Regions from separate parts of the Homo sapiens genome. Here region 2 is linked to region 1. Evidence: promoter capture Hi-C in 16 types of primary human blood cells and fetal thymus (Javierre and others, 2016). All regions are on one chromosome and are shown on one strand. Each heading gives the region's core, a stretch centred on a gene start or on the middle of the fragment in contact. The rest is flanking DNA. Distances are from core to core; before and after follow the strand shown. Region 1 holds the start of LHFPL1 (LHFPL tetraspan subfamily member 1). Region 2 has its middle 8.5 kb from the start of ALG13.

What was found. Contacts are between HindIII fragments. The CHiCAGO score rates a contact against its expected background, and 5 or more counts as called.
Region 2: a contact is called between a fragment that was not itself captured here and the fragment with the promoter of LHFPL1 in region 1, in 1 of 17 cell types (non-activated CD4 T cells). The highest score is 7.1, in non-activated CD4 T cells.

Annotation. Positions count from the first base shown.
Region 1 is chrX:112,678,636-112,681,207 of GRCh38, forward strand. It overlaps LHFPL1 (LHFPL tetraspan subfamily member 1), which reads right to left and starts at 1,303. Exons shown (of 4, transcript NM_178175.4): 1 at 1,194-1,303. The HindIII fragment of the contact is 5,630 bases long and covers 1-2,572 here.
Region 2 is chrX:111,671,426-111,673,997 of GRCh38, forward strand. No RefSeq gene overlaps it. Among named protein-coding and RNA genes, the nearest start is that of ALG13, 8.5 kb to the right of the region's middle. The HindIII fragment of the contact is 438 bases long and covers 1,063-1,500 here.

The sequences.
Region 1 (2,572 bases), core at 53-2,552:
GAGAGGCAGCATGGTATATCAAGAATGTTTGTCTCAACAGAATCACTTTCAATGCTTGTTCAGAATCACTTTCAATGCTTGTTCAAAATGCAGACTATGTCACCCCCTCCTTGATTCACTGAATTCGAATTTATGGGAATTCATATTGTTAAAAATCCTCAATTTATTCTAATGGGAACTAATGATTGAGGAATACTGTTTTAGTGGAAAAGTCACAATTTTGGAATCAGATCAGAGACAGAGTCCTGAGGTCTGCCCCTTACAGGCTATATGCACATAAAAAGATCACTTAAAACCTCTGAGTTTTGGTTTCATTTATAAAATGGAAATGATTAAGCATAAAATTCAAGTGAAACATCTGCACTATACCTAACACCAGAGTAGGTATCAATTCTCTCCCTTTCTACCAGAAAAGACCCTATTCTCTCATAAGTAATGGAAAAGACTTGAAACCACCTAAGATTTAGAACATCTCTCCTTTCCCCTTTCTCTCCCCACAACCACTCCATGGGTGATTTTTCCTCACCCCTAGGCTTCATTCTATTTTCAGTTCCCCACCACAAAATGAAACCACTTGGCCAAGTGTTCTTTGCAAGAATGGATTTATAGTTTAAGTATTTCAGGTTCTTCTGGAAATTGTCATGCCTTGGCACATAGTAGGAACTCATAAATATTTACCAAATGGATGCATTCTTTTATTTCCAGCCTGAGAGGCCTCAATATTTGCATTTCAGTTTAACTTCATTACCCCATTTCCGTCGCATAACCCCTTAGATTTAGGCAAATCCAGGAGATCAACCTACCACATTAGCAAACCGGATCCATTTTTACTTGTATAGACAGGTCATAACAAAATCACTCTCTCCACTCCCAGAAACAGGCACTTCATCTCCTCAGGTTACCAACTCCCCTGGGGAAACCAACTAGCACTTAACCCTTAGGTCCTCAAATCTTGTCAATATGAAATAGGAATCCAGCCCTGATTCATCTTAGCCTCTGTGCAAACAACGGACTATGAAGAAATAAAAAAGCACCAGGCTGCCCTCGGGTAGAAAACGGCTTCTCTGAGCTTTGAGATGAAAGGACAGGAAACCTGAGAAAGGAAGGGGAGAAGGGGGGGCTGAGCAAGGGGAGAGCAAAGCAGTTTCTTATCCAGCTGTTTGAATTGCATTTGGCCCAAGTTGCATATTTACCTTCTGACCACGAAGGCTGACTGACTTGTTCCCTCTCTTCAGGCTCAGATCTCAGAAACAACTTCTCCTTACAGCTTGTTAGACAAGGATGGGAATACTAGCTGCCCTTTGCAGTGATGCCTGAAAACCTTGCTTTACCTTTGGGAGAAAGGGGCGGAGTCCAACCTAATGGGGATTAACTCCAAACACGCTGGAGGCTTCAAACCCAGCCTCAGACATACAGGCACTTGAAATAGAAAGTAGCTTAGTGGGCACAGAGTCCCCAAACCTCCAACCTCACAGCGGACAAAGCAGCTCTGTGTGTGTGTGTGTGTGTGTGCGCGCGCGCGCGCGCGCGCGCGTGTGTGTGTATGTGTGTCCGCGCGAGCGCGCGCGCATGCGCGCAGGCATGCCCGCGCTTGAACTGCGTTATCTTACTTCCTCACTTGCTGCCCAAAAGCCTGCTGAGGAACAGAGATTTTCTCTAATTTTCCTCCAATGCCCTAGATAATCTCTACCATGGTAGGTAGCAGACCCATGTGGCTAGAAGTGACTGAGAGAACACATGCCTAAATAGAATAAGACAGAACAACCTCTTCTCCCCAAACTGATTTCCATTGCCTGATGGGGAAGATGCTCCAGCAGAGCAATCTTTGGCTCCAAGATGTAATGAGCTTACATTTCAGAATTTGTGGAAATCATACATTGAAAGGAATAACTAATATATTTTTATAGTAATAATACAATCAAAAGTCAGTGTTTAATTTATCCCAGTGCACTAATAACTGCTACTCTGCTTGGGAAAAGAGCTGAGTGGTCTGGAGATGAATGGAGCTTTGCCTGATGTTCTACTCCAACCCGATGTCATATTTCCCACCTGTGAATGTCCCTGACACTTCATATTTGGGGAAACTTATTATCTTCTACCTAGTATCATTATTATTATTATTATTTTCGTACATGTCTCTTTTCCCCTCCTAGATGGCCTGTGAATGGGGAACTTTGCTGAACAAATCCAAATGATTTAGAAGGAAGAATGGTTACATTAACAGAGCACACTGGACTGATCCAAAGTATCCATGCTTCTCTGATGGCCCAGTTCCCTCACCAGAATGCTACAAAGGTGATTAGGCCTATTTTCTAGCATGTTGTGGCAATAATTCAAAATATGACCGTAAATTAACATATTAATTGTACCGTGATTATTTAATGAACTTACAAAGTTTCTCCTGCCTTCTGTGTATACCACCTGTGTCCTGCCTTTTATCAGTGATATGATCCTATATTCATGCATGTATTTGTCTATCTAGCAACTTTCCATCAGCAATTTTTACCGTTTTGTTCTACAACACAGTGATAAATCCATTCCCATCTGTAATCATGGCTTACTGAGGCCATCA
Region 2 (2,572 bases), core at 32-2,531, 1.0 Mb before region 1:
GCTGGAGTGCAGTGGTGCAATCTTGGCTCACCGCAACCTCTACCTCCCGGGTTCAAGCGATTCTCCTGCCTCACCCTCCCGAGTAGCTGGGATTACAGGCATGCACCACCATGCCCAGCTAATTTTGTGTTTTTAGTAGAAACGGGGTTTGTCCATGTTGGTCAGGCTGGTCTCGAACTCCCGACCTCATGTGACCCACCTGCCTTGGCCTCTCAAAGTGCTGGGATTGCAGGAGTGAGCCACTGCGCCTGGCCGAAGAGTTTTATTTTCTAAAAAAACAATCACAGCCTCTGTTGTAAACTGAAAGCATGCTATTGGGAAAGTTCCCACCCCAGCCCTCGATCAGGTCCATATGTGCAAATGAAGAATTCAAACTCTTTCAGCCCGAATTCGTTGAAAACTTCTGAGTCCCAGATGGGTAGTTTTCAAGCCAGAACCAGAAGTCTCTGTTGGATGCTCCTTTCAGGCTGCTGGTGGGAGTTTTCCTGCCACTGTGTCTCAGCTCCAATTACTGGTTACAGGAACTGCCTTAGCTCAGAGGCGCAAACAGGATGTTCGTCTGGAACTGCCCTGTCTAGGAACTATTTTAAATTTTAACATGTCAAAAAAAATGTCTAAAATACAGAGAATTCCCAAAGCTATGACAATCAAGGCAGAAATAAAGTAAATGTAAGGGCTGAGCATATTACTCATACAGTCCTGGTCTGGTGTCCTGGGTTAGCTGTCAACCTTAGATGTTGTCTTCTTGGCCTGGAGATGGGGTTTTAGTAATCTGAATTTGGTATTAAACACTGGCATTTATGTCCAAGATTCTCCAGGAGTTGGTGCCATTTTTAGGTGAGATATATGTATCCAAGAGTCAATACACTGTAACTTGGCAGCACAGAGATTGATTAACAGTACCTGAAAAGAGTGCTTCTTCCAACAAGGCTGAAGGTAATCTTTCAATTGATGTCTCTACCAACGTACATAATCACTAGGCTGGAGGCTGCGATGCCAGAGGTCACTATCTGATTTGGGCCTGTAAAAGGATTCCACAACCTTGTGGCGGTTAGTCTTTAAAGCTTTGACAAGGCATTGGTAGTAGGTTAGGAAGTCTCCCTGTAACCGAGCAGGGAAAACGTTTCTTCAACCAGGTGCATGAGCAGACCGGCAACGATCTCAAAAGGGGAGAGACAGTGTTTCCTACTAGGTGTGGATTGTAAAACTAGCAATGCCAATGGGAGGGCCTTATGCCAGGGCAGGTTAAAAGTACTTGGGATCTTCACAAATTGGGTTTTTATAACCCCATTTATCTATTTAACCAGCCCAAAAGACTGGAGTGGTATGCATAATGAAAATGCTGCAGAATGGGCTAAATGTTCCAAATTTTTGCTAATACTTGGCCAGTTAAATGAGTTCCTTGGTTACTATATAGCTCAGTTGGAATTCCCCAAGAGGAATGATCTTTTCAAGGAGTACTTTGGCTACTGACATGGCCGTAGTCTGTCTGCAGGAGAAAGCTTCAACGCAATGGAAATACATGTCAACCATTATAAGGACATTTTTGTATCCATGAGATGGGGGTAATTGGATGAAGTCAAGCTGCCATTCTGCAAAAAGGCCATTGGGAAGTGATACTTGGCCTGAAGGACATTTTAGGGGTTCACCTGGAGTATATTGGGGACAGAGGCTACAAAGTTTGTATACCTAAAAAGCAACTGTTGGGGAAATTTCTCCGAAGTATTGTCTGACCCATTTATTCACTGTATCCAGATTGTAGTGAATTAGGTTATGTATAAAGGTCTGTTTGTGTCTGTAGACTGCTAGGGAGGATTGGATGTCTATTTGTCCCTTCTCATAATCTTGTTTGGGAGTTAAATGTGCAACTTTGTTTCATCCATTTCCCCCTTTCAAGATATGAAACTGCTTTCTGAGATGTGAAAAGTCTAGAAAAATGGTAATCAAATGGGCAAGCATGGGGGCTGAGGATTGAATGAGCATGATCAAGGGAGTTACTTGTAGGGCTGTAGCTTCAGCAGCTGCATCAGCAAGATGATTGCCCTTACTGTCTTCAGAGTTTTCAGGGGAGTATCCTTGGATCTTGATAATAGCAAGAGATAATAGAGCCTGAATAGCTTTTAGAAGTGTCAAAACAAAAATCTTTATTTTTAATAGGTTGTCTGGAGGAGGTCAAAAAACCTCATTGTTTCCAGGGCATACGAAATTATGTGCAACACCAAAGACGAATCTACCATCTGTATAAAATGTTAGTTGTTTTGCCTCCAGCCAGCAAACAGGCTCATGTGAAGGCATGCAATTCTGCTTGTTAAGCTGACCAGACCGTGGGAAGGGGGTCCTATTCAATAGTCTCTGCTGGGGAAACTATGGCGTATCTTGCGAGGTAAGAGCCAGCAGGGCTCTTGAGAGAAGACCCATCAGTGTACTAGACAAAGTCCAGATTGGGCAGAGGCATTTCCTTTGGGTATATGCTGGGTAAAAGGAGGGTATCTGTAAAACTGACACAGTCACAGGATGTCTTCCACTGGAGATGATAAAAGGGTTTTAATAGATTGCAGTGGGCAATGGCTAA